Linked DNA regions of Homo sapiens: region 2 is linked to region 1. Evidence: promoter capture Hi-C in human tissues and cell types (Jung and others, 2019). All regions are on one chromosome and are shown on one strand. The core of a region is centred on a gene start or on the middle of the fragment in contact, and the rest is flanking DNA. Distances in the headings are between cores, read along the strand shown.

What was found. The method cuts DNA at HindIII sites, captures the fragments that hold promoters and counts their contacts. A contact is called where the count stands out against the background at its distance.
Region 2: a fragment that was not itself captured here is called in contact with the fragment with the promoter of SEZ6L2 in region 1 in 1 of the 25 tissues and cell types used here (spleen).

The regions. Positions count from the first base shown.
Region 1 is chr16:29,897,688-29,901,051 of GRCh38, forward strand. SEZ6L2 (seizure related 6 homolog like 2) reads right to left here and starts at 1,863. Exons shown (of 18, transcript NM_001243332.2): 1 at 1,254-1,863; 2 at 166-297. The coding sequence starts at 1,332. ASPHD1 (aspartate beta-hydroxylase domain containing 1) reads left to right here and starts at 2,801. Exons shown (of 3, transcript NM_181718.4): 1 at 2,801-3,364. The coding sequence starts at 3,285. RefSeq lists an enhancer at 1,761-2,055 and a silencer at 2,419-2,848. The HindIII fragment of the contact is 10,220 bases long and covers 1-3,364 here.
Region 2 is chr16:29,711,716-29,715,079 of GRCh38, forward strand. No RefSeq gene overlaps it. Among named protein-coding and RNA genes, the nearest start is that of C16orf54, 33 kb to the right of the region's middle. RefSeq lists an enhancer at 343-924. The HindIII fragment of the contact is 8,263 bases long and covers 1-3,364 here.

The DNA.
Region 1 (3,364 bases), core at 613-3,112:
TTTCTCTGACAGTCTCGTTCTGTGTTCCCTGAATCTCACAGGAATGCAGGCTCTTTCCTCTGCAGTCTCTCTCTGCCTGCTCTTCTCTAGCCTGGCTCCCCATCTCCCTGAGCCCATATCCCTCCCTCTGCCTCTAGGCCACTCCTGCCACTCTGGGGGCCTCACCTGGCAGGTAGCCCATCTCTGGGCCCCTCCTCAGCAGGGCCCCATGAAGCAGTTCAGCCAGGGCCTCAGAGGCCACCGTGGGGGTCTCACTTCCAGGCTCTGGCAATATCTCCTCCTCCTTCAGGGGCAGACCTAGGAGGTGAAGTTGTGTGAGCTTCTCCACTTCCCCACACCCCTTCCTTCTCCAGAGAGATATTTTCTAGAACTCTTCCTCCCTCCTCCATCAGCTGGGCCTGCAGGGGCTCAGATGGTCCCAGGCTCGACTGAGGGCCAAGATCGGAGGAGGGGCTCCCAGCTGCCCTCATACTCCCACTCCCACACCTCTTCTCTCCCCTCCCCTCTCCCTTCTCCCTGGGCTGTGTGGGCCTTCATTGAACACCTTAGCTCTTATGGACCCTGGACAGCGCCAGCAAGGCAGAGGGGTCGCCGGTGCTGCCTTCCCTTTCACCTCAGTGGTGATCTCCCCCCAACCCTGGGGCTCTGCAGAGGATCTGGCCGCACCTCCCAGCCCTTGCTTCCGCAGTGCCTGGCTTTCTCTCTGGGTTTCTGTCTCTGCAGTGTGGCTGTCTTTTCTCTCTCTCTCTCTCTCTCTCTCCCCCCCACCCTCTCTCTCTCTGGTCCTCTGCAGTCTCTGCCTCCTTCCCTGGAGTCTGGCTGGGGGTCAGAGTGGGGGACTGAAAATCTGGTCTTTGAGCCCTGCCTCTGCTCATCTGTCTTTGTCCATTCATCCAAGAACAGTTGTGTGTACAGCGCCTGGCATCTCTCTCAGCACCTCCATCTCCCACCCAGGTCCCTCCATGCTTCTGCCGCCTCCGCAGACATCCCCCCAACTTTCCCAGCCCTCCTTCTTGGATCTAGCCCCTGAGACACTGCTAAAAGCTTCTCTCATTCATTTCTCTGCCTTCTCAATATTGAGGGTTAAGGGGCTTCGGGTTCAAGCCTGAAAGCTCTGGCTTGCCCCTTCCCCATCAGCTGTGCCTCTCCCCTCCCCCATGTGCTCGGAAGACCCAGGATATTAAGAGAAAGGAGGGTGGAGGACCCCGCTGGACGCCTTCCTGGGGCCCACCCCCACAGTCTCATGTCCTTACCCTGGATCCAGGGACAGCTCAGCAGAATTAGGAACAGCAGCTGGGGAGGCGGCGGGTGCTGGGCCCTGGGAGTCCCCATGGCGACTCACCCCGATCTCTCTCCTCTGTGCCTCTCTAAGTAATCTGGCTGCCACCTTTCCTCCGTCTCCGTTTATCTTTCCCTTTAATTGTTTTTTTTTTTTTTTTTTTTTTCCTCGTAGGAGTCAGCAAAGAAAGACAATTTCTCTGCCCCTTGGGATGGAGGGGCAGAATTGGGCTAGGGGTCGCCTGGAGCCCACCCCCCTTTGCTCAGTCTCCTCTGTCCTCTTCTCGCGGCTCTGTGGTGGAGGGGGCGCGGCTCCGGCTGCAGGGGGTGGGGCCGAGAGGGCCGAAGGGGCCGGGTGGCCTGGGTTACCCTCCTGCTCAGGCGCCTGGGTCCACTGGGCTGTCTGGACCCCAAGCTAGGGGACTGGGGAGGAGAAAGACAGCTTCTGGGGGTTTAGGGTGGGGTCGAGGATCGAGGGGGTCTCCACTGGGCTCTAGCGGGGCTTGTCGGGGAGGGGAAGGGGTGGGTTGGGGAACTGGGAGAGCCGAAGCTCGGGCACTGGAGCTGCGGGAGGGAGAAGCTGAGAAAGGTATCGAGCCCACGTCAGATCCTGGGGACGGGCGGAGGGAGGGGCCTGGGATTTATTTGACGGGGAGGGAGGAGGAGGAAGTGCAGATGGAGGAGGGAGGGATCATACGAGCCAGGGCCGTAATCCTCACTCCCGCGGCCCCTAGGGGAGGCAAAGGAAACTCTCTGGTCCCAGCAGTAATTAGCCCCCTCCGCCTGCCATTCCAGCACATCTGGAATCTGAATCTCCTCTTCCCAGGGTGCCGAGGGGCTGCATAGCTTGGTTCGCGCCTGCTAGGCCCCCAATTATGCCCCCTGTTCACATTCAGACCTCCCAAGGGGCTTCCCTTCCCCTTTTACAGTAGCTCGGGTGGAATGGGCTCTCCCTCCTCCAGGGGAATAGAGAGCTTCCACGATTGTGACAAGTCTCGTGGGTGACGGGCCGGGGTTTGGGGAGGAGAGACAGACCCCTCCTCTTCCATAAACCCTGACCCCGGCCAGCTAACAGGCGGCCTCGGCTCTGATTTTCCCTCCGGAGCGCCCTTTTCAGCACCAGCGGCGCGCGGACAGCTCCCCTCGCCCCGCCGGGGCGGGCCCGGCCCGACGCCGCCCGCGATTGGCTGAGGCCGCTTTCGGTGTTTGCCAGGCTCGCGGGCTCCCGGGCTGCCTAGGGCCAGCGGGAGTCACAGGCCGACCGACCGACGGACCAGCCGCCCGACGGACTGGCCTCAGCATCCTTGCCCGCAGTCCCGGGCGCCTGCCCAGCCGTCAGTCCGCGCTCGCCCCGCCCCTCAGGCCCCGCCCCTCAGGCCCCGCCCGATACGACCCGCCCCTTCTTTCGCATTGCGGGACGGCTGGAGGCTGGCACCGTGGCCCCTGCGCCCCACGTGGCGCCCTTTCCGGGCGGGGGGGGTGGGGAGGCACCTCCAGCGACAACTCTCCCCCCTCCCCCGGCACCCGGCTGATTTGCTGTGCCACTGGGAGGGTTCGGGGGTGGCTGAGCTGAGAGGGCTCCGGGAAGGAGTGACGTCAGGGTGAGTGGGAGCCCAGGAAGGAGCGAGTAGGAGAGAGGGAGCGAGAGCCAGGCAGGACCGCAGGGTCGGGGCTAGTGAGGAGCGAGGGCAAGGAGAGAGCAGTGAGGCCGGAGAGAAAGAAGCTGCCGCGGAGGAAGACAGGCTGCGGGTTCCCGGGACTGCAGGTCCAGGCAGGGTAGGAACCGCTGCCCAGGGGAGCTAGGAGGAAGCGGGGAGAGAGAGCGAGCGAAAAGCGGGGGTGGGGAGGAAAGGGGGAGATTGAGGTGGGAGAGAGAAGCAGAGCGAGAGAGAGGAGGCTGCTGGAAGGAGAAAGAAGAGGGTGAGGAGGCGACAGAGGGAGAGGAGGAAGAAGAGGTAGAAGGAGAGAGAAAGGGGAGAGAAAGGAGAGAGGAGGGTTGGAGGTGCATGAAGGAGGGGAGAGGGAGCTTCAGCGTGGAGAGAGGACCGCGGAAGGAGAGAGAGACAGCCCAGAGTGGAATGTGGAA
Region 2 (3,364 bases), core at 239-2,738, 190 kb before region 1:
CTGCAAGCGTTGCAAAATCAACCTAGCTCTTTTAGCAATCACATCAGGCAGGCCCAAAGAGAATGATTACCCAAAATTAGAGAAGCCAGTTCTAGGGGAACCACCTGAGGATTCCTTTATTTGGGGCCCCTTCAAGTTCCTTTCTCATTATTTAGGACCTTAGGCAAGTAAAGGGAGACTTAGGCCAATTTTCTTTCTTTCTTTATTTTTTTTTGAAACATAGTTTTGCTCTTGTTGCCCAGGCTAGAGTGCAATGGCGTGATCTTGACTCACTGCAACCTCCACCTCCCGGGTTCAAGCAATTCTCCTGCCTCAGTCTCCCAAGTAGCTAGGATTCACAGGCGTGCATCACCATGCCCAGCTAATTTTATGTTTGTTTGTTTTTTTAGTAGAGACAGTTTCACCATGTTGGTTTGGCTGGTCTTGAACTCCTGACCTCAGATGATCCACCCGCCTCAGCCTCCCAAAGTGCTGGGATTACAGGCGTGAGCCACTGCGCCTGTCCAATCTTCTAATGACCCTGATAGGTATACAGAAGTTTTCCACAATTTAACTCAGGTATTTAACCTCTCATGGAGGAATGTTATGCTGCTCTTAAGCCAAACCCTAACTGCAGTTAAAACAGGCAGCTCTGCAAGCAGAAGAAAATTTTGGAGATAAGCAATAGGTCTCCTATAGTAGGCCAAAAGGGAAAAGAAAAAATAGGGAAGGCAAAGAAATAGGGGAAACAATATTTCCAATAGGAAAAGAGGCAATACCTCTTGGCAACCCTATTTGTCACTCCTTTCTATGGTGTTTTTCCTTCTTTCACGGTTTAAAATGGCTTCTATCTCTTTTATAATGTTCTTCCAACCTGGGAAAAGTTATTTTTCCAAACGTTAAAATGCTTGGCTTAGAGTTGAGCTAGGGGGAAGGGAACACAGAAGCCTGGTATGCTGGCAAAAGGGTAAACATTTCTTACCAGATGGGCTTTTGGCTTCTCCCTGTGCAAACCGGTAAAAGGGATAATAAGGATCATTGTTTATATTCTCTGTAAATTTCTAATTCATAAAAAAGGATTTGTGAGGTTGGTCTTAAGCTGTAAACAATCTGGTGTGCTTTGCATGTCTTTCCCTAAGAAAGGGTATCTTAGGTTAGGATGCAGGCCTAGGACCCCATAAGCCTGGTGTTTGAGCGAGCCCAACAAAATCGTCACTAACAAAATTGGCTATAAGCCTTCATCTTGTTTCATGTCCTTGGAAACATGACCTGTAACCACGTGGCAATACTTTGTTTGAGTCTCCACCATTTCATAATGGTGGCTGTCTTCTGGTGCTAAGTCAGTTTCTGGGTGAGGGCCACAAAATCAGATTAAGTCGGTTTGTCAATCTGGGTGGTGCCAGCTGATCCATCAAGGGCAGGGTTTACAAAATATCTTAAACACTCATTTTAAGAGTAGTTTAGGGAGTGTCAAAATCTTGTAGCCTCCAGATGCATAGCTCCTAAGCCATAGTTTCCAATATATATATATAATTTTATATTATATATATACATAATTTTATATTATATATATTAATATATAATATATATAATTATATATGTTAATATATTTAATATATAATTATATAAAATATATAATATATAATTATATATGTTAATATATTTAATATATAATTATATAAAATATATTAATATATATAATTATATAGTTAATATATTTAATATATAATTATATAAAATATATAATTATATATAATTATATAAAATATATAAATATATATAATTATATAAAATATATAATTATATATAATTATATAAAATATATAATTATATATAATTATATAAAATATATAATTATATATAATTATATAAAATATATAAATATATATAATTATATAAAATATATAAATATATAATTATATAAAATATATAAATATATAATTATATAAAATATATAAATATATAATTATATAAAATATATAAATATATAATTATATAAAATATATAAATATATATAATTATATATAATTATATAAAATATATAAATATATATAATTATATAAAATATATAAATATATATATATATATATTTTTTTTTTGAGATGGAGTCTTGCACTGTTGCCCAGGGTGGAGTGCAGTGGCGCAATCTCAGCTTGCTGCAACCTCCACCTCCCAGGTTCAAGTGATTCTCTTTGCCTCAGCCTCACAAGTAGCTGGGATTACAGGCGTGTACCACTACACCTGGCTAACTTTTGTATTTTCAGTAAAGACAGGGTTTCACTATGTTGACCAGGCTGGTTTCGAACTCCTGACCTCGTGATTCGCCCACCTTGGCCTCCCAAAGTGCTGGGATTACAGGCGTGAGCCACCACGCCCAGCCTGGTTTTTAATCTTATGGCTAGTTTCTTGGTCTGGTCCCCAGACAAGAGGGAAGTATATCTTAAGAAGGGGCTGATATCATCTTTGTTTTAAACTATCTATAGTTTAATAACTATAAACTATCTATAGTTTAATAACTATAAACTATAGCTTAATAACTATAAACTATAGTTTAATAACTATAAACTATAGTTTAATAACTATAAACTAGTTTAATAACTATAAACTATAGTTTAATAACTATAAACTATCTATAGTTTAATAACTATAAACTATCTATAGTTTAATAACTATAAACTATCTATAGTTTAATAACTATAAACTATAGTTTAATAACTGTAGTTTTAAACTATCTATAGTTTAATAACTATAAACTGTCTATAGTTTAATAACTGTAAACTCGCCCCTCCCAAAGTTGGTCCAGCCTACACCCAGGGATGGGCAAGGACAGCTTGGGGGCTGGAAACAAAATGGAGTTGTTTGGGTCGGATCTCTTCTCTTTCACTGTCTCAGTCTCAGTTTTGCAATGACAGTTTCAAAAGCTGCCTATTACTCCTTTGAAAATACCTTGTACACTTGTGGATAAGTCATAACCTAATTAAGGCTCATTGGGTTCACCTGTGAGGTTACTTTTTGTAAAACTCAAAAGCCAAAAATCTTAACTGCTTGGCATGGCTAAAGTCAAGTAACAAGGGATTTTGAAGGCTTTTCTTAGAGCACTCAGCTTAATTAAAAGTGGATATTCAAGTTATAGGTATACTTAAAAGGCCTTTATGTTTTTCTCTTCTTGAATCTTGTTTTCTGGAAAAAGGCTCTTCTCAGTCAACTGAATTATTTTTCTCCATTTTTGTCTTAACCACTCTTAATGCATGCATGAGAGTCCCTAAGACAACTTCTGACAGCATGGAACTCCTTGGGAAAAACAGAGGAGGTGCCACAAACCCTGTTTTGGAAAAAAAACCTGTTTTCCTCATGAAACCCCCAAAATTAAAAGCTGATAGTTCCC